5 separate regions of the Homo sapiens genome follow, and all the other regions are linked to region 3. Evidence: promoter capture Hi-C in 16 types of primary human blood cells and fetal thymus (Javierre and others, 2016). All regions are on one chromosome and are shown on one strand. Each heading gives the region's core, a stretch centred on a gene start or on the middle of the fragment in contact. The rest is flanking DNA. Distances are from core to core; before and after follow the strand shown. Region 1 has its middle 77 kb from the start of FRMD4B. Region 2 has its middle 17 kb from the start of FRMD4B. Region 3 holds the start of LMOD3 (leiomodin 3). Region 4 overlaps FRMD4B (FERM domain containing 4B). Region 5 has its middle 59 kb from the start of FRMD4B.

Region 1 (2,700 bases), core at 166-2,665, 340 kb before region 3:
ATTTGCAAACCATTGCATACTGAGTATCACATGGTCTTTACTTAATCTGTAGTCCTAGTTTCATGTTTTAGAGAAAAGAAGAAAGAAAAACACCATTTCCAGGCCTTATCTGCCTTAGAAATCATATATAGGTGACAGTTTACTTTCTGGCCTGCAGACAGTCTATGGGTAAGGGCGCTGATAATGTTATGTTATCCTACTGCACTCACTTGCCAAGCTAGCATATTTCCAAGGCACTCTAAATGGTCAAAAAATACCTCTGTCCTGTTACCAGAAAACCTCCTGGCCAACATACCCTTCCCATTTCTGACAGGATAGGTATTAATGGGCAAAAAAAGTTACCAGCATGTATTTTAAATTACTATAAGCAAAAGTTTAATACAAATCAGTTGATCATTTATTCAGAAAGTCAGCCTTAGTTGCTGCTATAACCTCAGAATTGAGAGCAGCAGAGTCTGCACGTGGTAGTTGCCCCATAAATATGTTTGAATGGGTACGAGTTAAGTAAAGGGTGTACTGTACTTTTCCAAATGGATCAAGGTGAGGCTTCACTTATTCACAGTTTACTCCCTCTGGCTTCCAGGGTAGTGTTTCAGCAACCTGCCTGCTGTGGGAATAAGTGATCAATCATCTTCTGTGATACCCAGTAATCTTTCTACTGGGTGGATCTCTAATAGCCTTTCAAAGCTGTACTCAGGAGATGAGGCAGTCATTTCTTTGTGCAGAGAGAGCCCTCCTTTTGCAAATTTCCTTGTCCCTTTAGCTTTATGCATCATGAGCCAAAGTTTGCTTATGGATTTCCGTAGAGTCATGGTTACTAATAGGGAGTTTCTCTTCAGATAACTTATATGTAGAGTATTTTATGAAAGAGCATAAGACTTGGAGGCAGATGCAGTCTGGCTCAAATCCCAACCTTGCCTCTATTACATTGTGTCATCTCAAGTCACTACTCAGCCTAACTGGAGACTTAGTTTCCTAATCTATAAGCCAAAGATAATAGCTATCCTAAAGACTTATAATGAAGATAAAAAATTAGGATCTATAATGCACTGAGGTCATTGCTTTGAATATCACTCATTAAATGAAAATGTTTTGATCGTGAACTTTAAATACCAATATTTGTAATTATTTTGGTCTACCCTGGAAGTGGTATATGGTATGTGTACTTCAATGGACCAGAATTATGAGAAAAACTCAAAATATACCAAGTTAGAGGTAAGTCCTCACCCAGGTTCCCTGGAAAACAGATCCCCCAGGCAAAACTGTATGTGTTAGATTCTACGATTGTCATTTATTTGATATTCTAGGACAGGTAAAGCTTGATACTGAAATAAATCAGAACAGTGGTTGCCTAGGAATGTGAGAAGAGTGGATTGACTGGTGAGGGGTCTAAGGAAACTTCCTGGGCTGATGGTTGCTCTAGATCTGGATGCAAGGGTGGGTCACATAGGTGTAGGCATTTGTCAAAACTTACTGCATGCAGATTATGTTCCATTACAAAATGAAAGCTTGGGTACTAGCACTTTATTGGGGAGTGCAATCCCAGGGAAGCAGGTGTGAGTGTGAATAAGAAGGAGTGAGCAGGGAGGGCAAGGAGGTGAATACAAGGAAGTGCATCATAGATGAGAAAGCTGGCTTTGTGACAAGCTGACTACATGGTCTTCCAGGGGTGTCTTGGGAGAAGCCATATGAAATTATTATGCTTCTGAGCAGTGCAGGGGGAGAGAGGAAGAAGAGTTCATTGGTCATTTCCCTGAGAGGCCAGGAGGAATCGCCTGCCACAAGTACCTCAGTTGGTGACTGTGGCAGAGGCCTTGGCTACCTGGCTGTACAGCAAGCCATTGCCAGGGCCTCTCAGGCCAGAAACAAGGCCAGTGCACAGATATTGGGTGATGCACAAGTGACTCAGGTGTAGGCACAGGGAGTTCTATGCATGGTTAAGGGTAAGCTGTGCAGAGCCAGAATGCATGAGTCAAGATCCTGTCTCCACCACTCACCAATTATGTAGCTTTGGGCAAGTGACTTAACCTTACCAAGCTTCAGTCTCCCTGTAGCTGTGCTGTTAGTGGCCCTGGGCCTACCCCAGAAGTTGTCTTCAGACAGTTCTCATGCACCCTGACAAGGCTGTTTGTGTCTTTTACCTGAGGGCTTTCTCTAGCCACAGAAGTGAACTGCTTCTTGCTATGGGACAGGCCAGACATCAGGGAAAGAGAGGGAACATTTCCAGGAGTGACCCTCAACCAATGAGGAGTAAAACTGCAGGATAAAACTGCGGCCTCCTAGCCCCTCCATGGGAACATTCTGAGGCATGCTCACACAGTCTCTCAGACAGTTCCCGGCAAGACTGAGCTCTGGTTACTTGCGGCTCTGGTTACTGTTCACGAAGACACCATGTTTTGGCATCCTTCCCTTCCCTGACTCCATTCCTCACTTCCCTACCTATGCTTCCTGGTAATATTTCCCAGAAAAAATCCTCCTCCCTGACTCCTTGTCTCAGCATCTGCTTTTTGAAAGACCCAACCTCAGGATATCACCCGTAAGCAAAATATTGTGAGGATTCATTGGGATAATATAGAGAAGGCCCCCAGAGCAGGCCTGCCTCTTACTAAGTATAAAATAAATGGAGCAATCATTTTGGCTGTTTCACCTACAGGAAGGATGCCATGTTATTTGTCATCCAAACGGGACACTTTTGAGAGG
Region 2 (2,700 bases), core at 120-2,619, 280 kb before region 3:
AATCAACAAAAAGTAGCTGAAGTTATTATTTGATGCTTCTAACTCTAATAATCACATCTCAAAGCCAGAGTTACATTTTCTATCCTTAATATTCAAGAAAGTAATACTATGAAAGAATCCTCTGGATCAGAAAGCCTGTGCATTTATTTAATTTTATTTTTTCTGAATTCTGTTATTGGAGAGAAATCTTATGGGCAAAAATACACTCACACTGTATTTTCTATTTGCGATTTTCTTCAAGAAAATCCAAAAGAAAACATTCTTAGGAGACCAGGCACATTGGTTCAGGCCTGTAATCTCAGTGCTTTGGGAGGCTGAGACAAGAGGATCACTTGAAGCCAAGAGCTCAAGGCCAACCTGGGCAATATAGTGAGACCTGTTTCTACAAAAACATTTTTTTAAACAGCCAGGTGTGGTGTTGGATGCCTATAGTCCTAGCTACTTGAGAGGCTGAGGCAGGAAGATTGCTTGAGCCCAGGAATTCAAGGCTGTGAGCATAATTGTGCCACTGCACTCCAGAGCCCGGGTGACAAGAGAGACCCTGTCTCTAAAATTAACAAAATAATATTTTAGGGATAGACATGTCTCTGATTCTGGTTAGAATAAAATGTGCAAAGAGAGACCTGTGTGTGTGTGTGTTGAGGTGGGGGGAGTGGGGTACGCATGCGTGCTTATGCACACTTTTGGAATAGAGATAGAGAATGCTGTACTATACTTCATAAGTGGAGTATACTTGAACTTGTAAGGTTCAAATGTCCATATGCCTCTTTTATTTTCAAGCTGATTGCGTTAGGTGTATATTTAAGCTTTCTATACTTCCAAAACCTGTCTTGCCTGTTTCTCCTCTCTGTGAAGTTTTCTATGACTGTTTGAATAGTGCTGACATTTCATAGTCTCAGGGTTTAGTAGCAACGGCAGGAATGGGGTTAGCTTCCCCACTCATTTCAGGGGGAAGGGTTCCTTTCTTCCTTACTGAGATTTCCCTGTCACTGAGCCCTGTTGTTTTGCTAGCAGAAGGCCTCTGTTACAATGCTATGTTACATGGCATTCCTTGTATCTAGCATTAATTGAATCCTTTGGTTAATGAAAATAACTGCCCAGTTGAGCCAGTTTTAAAATGGGGACAGTGAGAATACTTCTGAGTTGTTGAGAACATTAACATGGCTTGGTGGGTGTGAAACCCCATAAGTCAATGCCTGCACATAGCTTCTTTTCTAAGGAATATCAGGAAGGAATGATTTTTTTTCTTTTCTGAGGAATATTTGGGTGTTCATTAGAGGCCCCTGAACCCTTGCTAAGTTTCAAAGCACCTCTGTGATCCAGGCAGTTCTTACAAATGAAGTAGAGGGGATCTGATTTAGCCTTTCTGTTTTATTAGTGTGGACACAGACCCAGTATCTTCAGGGTCCTCCAAACATCTAGCTACTGCTGGCATATCCTCCTGGATGTTCCAGATATAAAATGTTGTTTCTCTTCTCTGCCGTATTCTGTGTTTGAATGATTAATACCATAATACAGAAATTCCAGGGCTATGCTTCCTTTAAACAAAATAATCTTCTGGAGTCTTTTTCAATCACTCTCCATCCAGTGATTTTCATATGTATATCTCATTGATTCCTGATTCTTTTTGATTTACTGTCTGTCATGTGCAATCTGACTAATGTATTGAGGTCAATTATTGCACTGTCTCCTGATGCCAATAATTCTCACCTACCCTCATGTCATACTGTCTATAATCTGGGTTGCTTATTTAGCTATTTGGTATCCACGAGATCTAGAGGCAATGGGAAATTCATTTTGTACATCTTATGTTTGATATTTGGTTCAATTCAGCCCTACATATATGAATTACGCACCTCCTATATCTGAGATACTGTGTTAGGTTTTGGGATACAAAGATAAACAAAACATCCTCCCCTTCTCAAAGCTTTCAGTCCAGTGTAAAGTATATCATTAAAGATCTCCTAAAGTAAGAGAGAACCCACACATTAATTGGGTTAATAAGGTAATAAGGAAAGATATTATTTCATATGTCATAAGGAAATCTATTATGTTAAGATATCCTGAGGTAGGGCAGCTCACACACAATACTTGAAGGCTCCAGTTTCTCATCTTGGTAATTGCCTTGTTTAAAAATCAGCTCTCTGTATTGGCTTCATCCTCATTGTGGCAACAAGATGGCTCAACCAGAGTTAAGCTAGGTTTCCCAGAAGCCCCCTCAGTAGATATCCCCTTTGGTCTTAATGGGCAAAGCTGATCACATGCCCTTTCCTAAACCAATCACTTGACAGGGAGGATGGGATTACCATACCTGCCCTAGGCCTGTCCTTTTGGGTAGAACGGATATTGGATAATCACCCATGACTGCAATAGTTGGGCAGACATGAGAAATAGGAAATTCACTGCAGTTGTGTTATTAACATATGCTGAGACAGGAGGCTGTATAAGATCCCACAAGAATTGCCTACGCACAGGCTACTGCATTTAATCATTTATTATGAAAAACATTTTATTTTTACTAAACTAAAAGTTTTTCTGAAGTCTGTATAGATTACAGTGGTTGTATCTCCTCTTGTTGACCCCTGTGCTTCTTACACTGAGATGTTTGTGCTCTCGGCCAGGCACGGTGGCTAATGCTTTGTAGTCTCAGCACTTTGGGAGGCCGAGGCAGGCAGATCGCTTGAGTCCAGGAGTTTGAGA
Region 3 (2,700 bases), core at 197-2,696:
AAAGAATCCTAACAGAGGGCAATAAAAAATTATTTAGTAGTAGAGTACACAGTTGCCTAGAAAAAAAGAATCCTGACTTTCTCAGTCAAAAAAACAGATGAGAAAAAATGATAGAGTTTGTATGCCTAAAAGAAAGGACTGGAATGAAAAAACTGAAATGTTAATAGTGGTAGCTTCACAGTGAGGTAAGGGGAAGATTTTGTTCTGTGCCTTTCTATGTTATCCTAACTCTTGTACAATGAATGTATATTTCGGAATAAGAATATATTTACGAGCCAGGCACGGTGGCTCACGCCTGTAATCCCAGAACTTTGGGACACCGAGGCAGGTGGATTGCTTGAACTCAGAAATTCGAGACCAGCCTGAGCAATATGGCAAAACCCTGTCTCTACAAAAAATACAATTAGCTGGGTGTAGTGGTGCATGCCTGTGGTCCCAGCTTGATCCTGGGAGGCAGAGGTTGCAGTGAGCTGAGATCGCAGCACTGCCCTCCAGCCTGGGTGACAGAGCCAGACCCTGTCTTAAATATATATATAATAAAACTTGTATATTATATATTATTGTACCCTTTGTCACACAAATAATGGCATGTAAAACACACTGTTTTGTACTTTGCTATATTGTGTAACCTTGTACACACGTTGTTTCACCCATGTAGGGGTATATCTGTAGGATACACTTCTCAAAGTGGAATTGCTGGGTCAAAGGAAATGGGCATTTGTAATTTGGACAAATGTTGCATATTGCCCCTTCAGGGTTTGAAAACAAAATCTTCTCATAGTTTCTTTTAGTATATTAGTGGTCTGGATTTCTTTTTTAACACTTCACTTTAGAGCCATTTTCATTGATATTGGCTTAATGGATACTTAATAAGAAAAGCAAATAATTTAAAATATTAAACTCACTTATAGTGGAAATCCAAGTGCTGGTTGTCCCCATCTGTTAGATCACAGGATCTAGATGCAAACAGGACATCTTGCAAAGGTTCGGCTTACACAGAGGATGAGTGACATAGCAAGACCTCTGTTCCACTGTGCACCACTTTATTTGCTTCCACACTCACCTTGTAGGGAAGAGGCAGACCCTAAGAGCTTGATTTCTACCTTCAAGTGAATTCTTTACTTCAGAAACAACTCAGGTTGCTGGTTGGATTTCCCTTCTGAAATATTGTAAGTTGCTTTAATATTTAAATAAAAACAAGTGGAATCCCCTGGAGTATTGGGGTATGTATGTATGAGCTGCATGAATTTGTGTATGGCAATATGATGGCATATAGGAAGATAATTAATTTTATTCCTGCAGAGATTCTGTAGTCTCTGCTAGTCTCTGGCAAACATAGCAGCTGTACTGAAATGTCAGATGGATTTGCGCAGCTGACTCAAGTTGCCAAAAAGAGAGCAGCATAGTTGTTCCATAAATTGACCCCATCCAGCCAAGCCCTGCTTAATATAGATCCGGCAAGAGCTTAGCTGTGATCACTCCTAGCTGCTCAGCAAACCACTGAGGTTCCTGGGAAAAAAAAAAAAATATCTCAAGGGTGTGTTAACTTGGGACACTCGTTAACTGGGGGACCTTCTTGAGGCTTTTTTCCTTCTTTTTAAAAATCATCTTTGATTATTCTTCTTTTCTAGTAAAATAATATTTAGAAAAAATAATGTCAGAGCACAGCAGAAATTCAGATCAAGAAGAACTTCTCGATGAGGAGATTAATGAAGATGAAATCTTGGCCAACTTGTCTGCTGAAGAACTGAAAGAACTGCAGTCGGAAATGGAAGTCATGGCCCCTGACCCCAGCCTTCCCGTGGGAATGATTCAGAAAGATCAAACTGACAAGCCACCGACAGGAAACTTCAATCATAAATCTCTTGTTGATTATATGTATTGGGAAAAGGCATCCAGGCGCATGCTGGAAGAGGAACGAGTTCCTGTCACCTTTGTGAAATCCGAGGTAACCAGAGATTTGTGTACAACCGAGAAATGGCTGCCTGGGATGGGCTGTTAGGTCTCTCTGTTGTAACTGTGATTTCTCAAGACTCCAGGGTTTGGTTCTGCTTTGTTTTTGCCATATCTAGATTAAACCATAATATTTAATCCTACTCCGACTGGAACTTTCTGAAACACATTTATATTTACAAGGGGAAAATTGGGTAATTTCTTGCAAATGTCTCTTTTTAAAAATTGCTGTCGGGTTTGCTGTGTCAGAAAGCCTGTGTTCTATTGCCACGATACTTAGTGACTTAACTCATAACCCAGAGGCAGTTGTCCTTACCTCTCTCTTTCTTTTTTATTGCAGGCCCCTTTGAGAAAGTAATGACAGCTCTGTAGCCTCTGTCTCTCTGGCACATCCAAACATACGCAGTGTTTCGCACACAGTGTCAAACATTTCAGTCCTCCTGAAGTCTGGCCACACAACCTGCAATTAAACCAAGTCGAATAACCAGAAAATGTCTTATATTATTACTATGTATTGGCTGTCAGTGATGACATTTAGAAATCGATGGCTATTAAGTGGTTTTGAAGCTAGTTCTTCACTTTCTAAAACCTGAAAGCTAGAATTGTTAACTCTGCAAACTTACTGTGCATGAGCATAATTTTTTTTTTTATGTTCCACTTGAAAATGACTTAACAAAAAGAGGACAGAGATGCCTCCTAGGTAAAGTCTCTTTAGGTTATGCCTGTTTACAAAGATACATCTTGTTA
Region 4 (2,700 bases), core at 144-2,643, 260 kb before region 3:
ACCGTGTCCACGCTGCGGAGATGGTACACGGAGAGGCTGCGGGCTTGCCACCAGGTGCTGCGGACGTGGTGCGGGCTGCAGGACGTGTACCAGGTGAGCTGGAGCGCGCGGCACCCGAGGGCCCCAGCAGGATGCCGGGCACTCGTGGGAAGCAGGCTCCACCTGTATGATTTTATTCCCCCCAGCTCTTCTTAAACTCCTAGCAGACTGCTTGGCCCTTGGGTCAAACGCTCAGCAGCTCTAGGTAATTATTGCTTGACAGAGCTTGTGAATTTTTCAAATCGGGCATGGGGGGCACTTGCGAGATAGTCCCAGCGTTTGCAGACATCTGTTACAGAGCAATGGTGTACTGGCGGGCGCTTGACTAGGGAGGCTGTTGCTTTGCAACAGAGGGTCTTCAGAAAGCCACTTAGACATTCAAATGAGTCCTTCTTTTTAATTTCATTGGGGGTGGGAGTGGCTGCTTCTGAAGCAACGGTTTCACACCAATTTGCTGGCAGAGGGGGCCTTGGTGGATTTTTATCCTTCCGTTGGATTTTCAGTTTTCCATCAGGCAGCCCCAACTTGTAAGGCAGAGCCAGGAAAAGCTGATTCTGTGTCTACTGGCTTTTGGAAGGAAGGACAGCAAATTGTGAACACTTTGCAGGAGGATGACAGGCTGGGGAAGGGAGGGGTGGCCCGGCTACACGTTGGAATGCTCATGTTAGGATTTACTCCCTGTCACACAACACAGCCCCTTTATTTCTCTGCTCGGTCCCATCCTGCAGGCAAAAAATGCAGCAACTTTGCTCAACTAGGAGACCATTCATCCTCTCTGGTACTGCAGTTTGCCTGGATTTCTTTTTTTTTTTTTAGACAGTAATTTATGAATTTAAAAGTTCTGTGCTTTGGTTGTTAATATATTTGAGATTTTTAAAAATCTGCATTGTTTAGAAATATACTTGGTGTCTACTGTGGAAAGATAATATCATATTTTCTTTCCTGTGATGTGGAATAGCTTTGTTGCAGTTCCTGGATTTCCCCCCATTTGACCCTGTTCCTAATATGTCTAGAATTTATGTCTTATTATATTGTGTCTCATACATGATCAAGCACTTGATTTTGACAAACCATAATCTTCCATCAATCAGGCAAAATGAAAAGGCCAGCACCTAAGGTTAGCCTGTGGAAGTCTAAAGAGTCAGCGTCCCCTTGTCACCCTTGTTAAAATATGAGGAACATTTGAACTTGTGCTTTCACTGCTTCTGCTTTGTATAACATATCTGTGATATCTTGCATTTTGAAATGGAATCTGAAAGGCAGGTTGGGAACCAGGGCAGCATGTGGGAGTTTGAGAGTATTAGGGAATTGTGGATATATCCCATCTGGCCACATTACATAGCTCTCTGGCTTTTTGGAGCCAGAAGTGTGTCTGTCTTTCAAGCCTTTTTTTTCCTCTCTTGGGAAATCCCTGTTCAGTTTGGTCTGTAGAATAAGTGCCCCTTATGTAATTTTGTTTTTCCTTTTTAGTGTTTGAGAAACTTTCAAAAAGGGAACGCAAATATTGTAGCCAACCAGAGTGACTCTGTGCCTCACTCCCCAAGGATTCAGAGGATTTATGGCTTATCTGTAATACTGTTACTGACCAATTCAAAAATAAAGATTCCAGAAACCTGAGACCTTATGGATTCTTTATAAGGTTGACTGATAATTTTTATGCAGAATAGCAATTTGAGACACTGAGCTACTAAAATATATGTATTTTTTTCTTTTCTCTAAAATGGATGGTGACTGAGCCAATACCATATCATAATTGATAAGAACATCTAAAATAATGGTGGTAGTCAGGCAGTGTGCTGTGTGTCTATAATCCCAGCTACTCAGAAGGCTGAGGCAGGAAGATCCCTTGAGCCCAGGAGTTTGAGGCCAGCCCGGGCAACATAGTGAGACCCATCTCTTAAAAAAATAAAAAATAAAAAAAAAATAAGTCCCCACTCCTTATTTTTAACTTTAATCAATTGTACATTTCAAAATAACTAGAAGAGAATAATTTGAATGTTTCTAGCACGAAGAAAAGATAACGGTTGGGCACCATGGCTCATGCCTGTAATCCCAACATTTTGGGAGGCTGAAGTGAGAGGATCACTTGAGCCCAGGAGTTCAAGACCAGTCTGAGCAACATAGTGAGACCCCATCTCTACAAAAAATTTAAAAATCAGCCAGGTATAGCGTCATGAACCTGTGGTTCTCTCTGCTCAAGACGTTGAGGCAGGAGGATCACTTGAGCCCAGGAGTTCAATGCTGCAGTGAGCCATAATTGTCCCACTGCACTTCAGCCTAAGTGACAGAGGGAGACCTCCTCTAAAAAATTAATTAATTAAAATATTTAAAGCATTGGCTATCCCAATAACCCTGCTTTGATTATATGAATGTGTCACATTATCACATGTACCCCCGAACTATGTACATCTAATATGTATCAATGAAAATAAATAACAAAGGCTTTTATGAATACAGAATCAGAAGAAAATGATCTCTAAGTTTAATATTTCCTGTGCTTTTGCAAAAATAAGATTTTCAAAAATATTTTCAGCCTTTGAATATTCTTAATTGTGCAACATAATCCTTTGCAAAGGAAGATCATTTTTTAATGCTTTTCAAATATTAAGTGAAAAAGTAGTGACTTAATTGTGTAGAACTAAAAGACAGTAACTGCAAGTT
Region 5 (2,700 bases), core at 77-2,576, 320 kb before region 3:
CAGAGAGTGAGATATGTGTCTTCTGCAAATTAACTTGTCTTCCAAGCAACAAATTGAGTTTTAACTCTGAGTAGAGGGAGAACATTGAAAATTGGGTTCTAACTTAATCTAAAATAACACATGGCCTGGCGCGGGTGACTCACGCCTGTAATCTCAGCATTTTGAGAGGCCAAGGTGGGCTGATCACCTGAGGTGAGTTCGAGACTGGCCTGGCCAACATAACGGAACCTCATCTTTACTAAAAATGTGAAAATTAGCCAGGTGTGGTGGTGTGTGCCTTTATTCTCAGCTACTAGGGAGGCTGAGGCAGGAGAATCAGTTGAACCAGGGAGGCAGAGGTTGCAGTGAGCTGAGATCGCACCACTGCACTCCAGCCAGGATGACAGATTGAGACTCCATCTCAAGAAAAAAAATAAAAAAATTTGTAGGCTAGTCACGGTGGCTCACGCCTGCAAACCCAGCACTTTATGAGGCTAAAGTGGGCAGATCATTAAGTCAGGAGTTCGAGACCAGCTTAACCAACATGAGGAAACCTCGTCTCTACGAAAAATACAAAAATTAGCCAGGCATGGTGGTACATGCCTGTAATCCCAGCTACTCAGGAGGCTGAGGCAGGAGAATCACTTGATCCTGGGAGGCGGAGGTTATAGTGAGTTAAGATCACGCCACTGCACTCCAGCCTGGGTGACAAAGTCAGACTCCATCTCAGAAAATAAATAAATAAATAAATCAACACATACATTCATTTGACAAATAGTCACTGAGTATCTACTATGTGCATTGTCCCAGGCTACGAGGATGTAGCAGTGAACAGGACAAAGCAATATCTCCCTCCTCTTGGAGGTGAAATTCTAGTGGGACAAGAAAGCCAGCAAGCAAATAAACAGTGTAATTTCAGGACCAGACAGAAAATAAACAGGAGTAGAGAATAACACAAACGTAGCTTAATACTATTTAGGATATAGTGATCTGGGAAGGTCATGCGAGTTGAATTCGAATTATGAGATGGAGCCAGCTATGTGAAGATCCAGAGAAATAACAATCCAAGCAGTGACTCAGCAAGTGCCAAGTCCCTGCAGTGAGAATGGACTTGACCCAGTAAGGTGGGAAAAGGAGGCCAATGTGGGGTGTATTGAGAGTGAAGGGAAGACTGGCATGAAATGAGATTTCAGAGGTAGATAGGAATCCACATAGGAGCTGGAGTTTAAGTGTTAGTCTATGTAAAATCAGAAGTCACTGAGGAGTTTTAAGCAGGGGGTTTAATGAATGAGAAGTGGGATGATGCGGAGGAAGAATATACAGGTTTATGGCCTGAGCAGCCAAGGTTTGGCAGGAATCTTTCTTAGGAGGCCACCTGGAGTGATTGGCTAGGGTGTCTGCACTCTTTGTCTGCTGTTAGAGCAGAGACCGAATTGCTCCGAAGACTGGAATAGCAGTATTTGTAAATATCCTGTGACGTGAACTCTGGTTATAAAGACTGCATCGTCCCCCTTCTGTGATTCTCCAGACATGCTAATAAGTGGGTGCTGGAAATGTCATGATCTTCTAATCACAACCTTCTTTTTATGAGCCTTTTCAGCAGACACCCGTTCAGGGCAAGCTCCAAACCCTTTCTGGCTGCTGTCGTTTCTGGCGGGTATGTCACTTGTATGCATCACTCTGACCGCAGCGGGAGTGCTCGGAGGAGTTTACTTTTGCTTTGCGAGACTTTTTGGAAGGTTGTCTATTTTTATTAATTGTGGCATAGGAATTACTTTGTCAGAAATTTTGGAGCCCAGGAGTCTAAAAAATTACAGGGTATTATTAAATATTTAAGAATTGCTTAATTTCTCCACGTGGTATGAGATTTTGGCTGAAATTGGATCCTTGGGCTATTTACATCTAGTTTAGCATTACAGAGCCAGTTTTGCCTATTAAAACAAGTTTGAAAATTGTTTAAAACAATCTGGTGGATAAGTGTGTGTAGAGATTTTGTTGTTTCTTTATGTTCGTGGAGATGAGTAGTGAACATAGCACTGAAACAGAAGCAATCATCTTAGCTTGTGAAAATCCTGTTTGAGTAATAATGGGAAATGTTATCTTTTAAAATGTTTTGGTTATTTTCTTTTCCATTACAAACATGATATAAGTTCCTCCTAGAAAATTTGGAAGGTATGGGGTGAGAGTCAGGCGTAACCTAATCACACAGAAATCCATGAGATGTTGAAGTCTCATAAAATGATAGAGCTGGAATGCACTTTTATAACTATGTGGTTGAAAGAAAAAAACAACTTTATGTCAATAATCACAACACTTCTGATACCAAATGTGTGGATTTTCCACACTAAGCAGTCAGTTCTCCAACTCCTCATACACCAACTGGATGTCCTCAATTCAATTCAGTTCAATTTTGATTTCACAAAATCTACCTGAAATTAGCATCAGATACTGTAATCACCCAAATGTGTTCTTCTTGCCCGCTGCACAGATAAACCCAATTCACTGAGACAGCATTATTGCAGTAAACAAAGAGTTTAATTAATGCAAGGCTGGCCAAGCAGAAGGATTGGGGCTGTTACTCAAATCAGTCTCCCCAAAGACGCTAGGGTTTTTCAAGGATAGTTTGGTGGGCAGGGGGCTAGGGAATGGGGAATGCTGATTGGATGGGAGATGAAATCAGAGGGGTGTGGAAAATGGTCCTCGTGTGCTGTCAGCCTCTGG

The links. Contacts are between HindIII fragments. The CHiCAGO score rates a contact against its expected background, and 5 or more counts as called.
Region 1: a contact is called between a fragment that was not itself captured here and the fragment with the promoter of LMOD3 in region 3, in 1 of 17 cell types (activated CD4 T cells). The highest score is 5.6, in activated CD4 T cells.
Region 2: a contact is called between a fragment that was not itself captured here and the fragment with the promoter of LMOD3 in region 3, in 5 of 17 cell types (activated CD4 T cells, fetal thymus, neutrophils and 2 more). The highest score is 14.9, in activated CD4 T cells.
Region 4: a fragment that was not itself captured here is called in contact with the fragment with the promoter of LMOD3 in region 3 in 3 of 17 cell types (neutrophils, fetal thymus and activated CD4 T cells); the score reaches 6.9 in neutrophils.
Region 5: a contact is called between a fragment that was not itself captured here and the fragment with the promoter of LMOD3 in region 3, in 4 of 17 cell types (fetal thymus, activated CD4 T cells, endothelial precursors and 1 more). The highest score is 10.7, in fetal thymus.

The regions. Positions count from the first base shown.
Region 1 is chr3:69,461,861-69,464,560 of GRCh38, reverse strand. It overlaps a transcript of FRMD4B not described here. Among named protein-coding and RNA genes, the nearest start is that of FRMD4B, 77 kb to the right of the region's middle. RefSeq lists an enhancer at 1,627-2,127. The HindIII fragment of the contact is 190 bases long and covers 1,321-1,510 here.
Region 2 is chr3:69,401,765-69,404,464 of GRCh38, reverse strand. It overlaps a transcript of FRMD4B not described here. Among named protein-coding and RNA genes, the nearest start is that of FRMD4B, 17 kb to the right of the region's middle. The HindIII fragment of the contact is 1,121 bases long and covers 809-1,929 here.
Region 3 is chr3:69,121,341-69,124,040 of GRCh38, reverse strand. LMOD3 (leiomodin 3) reads left to right here and starts at 1,446. Exons shown (of 3, transcript NM_198271.5): 1 at 1,446-1,948. The coding sequence starts at 1,655. RefSeq lists an enhancer at 1,392-2,591. The HindIII fragment of the contact is 5,880 bases long and covers 1-2,700 here.
Region 4 is chr3:69,383,221-69,385,920 of GRCh38, reverse strand. It overlaps FRMD4B (FERM domain containing 4B), which reads left to right. Exons shown (of 23, transcript NM_015123.3): 1 at 1-93. Among named protein-coding and RNA genes, the nearest start is that of FRMD4B, 1.5 kb to the left of the region's middle. RefSeq lists an enhancer at 1-366. The HindIII fragment of the contact is 6,135 bases long and covers 1-2,700 here.
Region 5 is chr3:69,444,053-69,446,752 of GRCh38, reverse strand. It overlaps a transcript of FRMD4B not described here. Among named protein-coding and RNA genes, the nearest start is that of FRMD4B, 59 kb to the right of the region's middle. The HindIII fragment of the contact is 3,348 bases long and covers 1-2,700 here.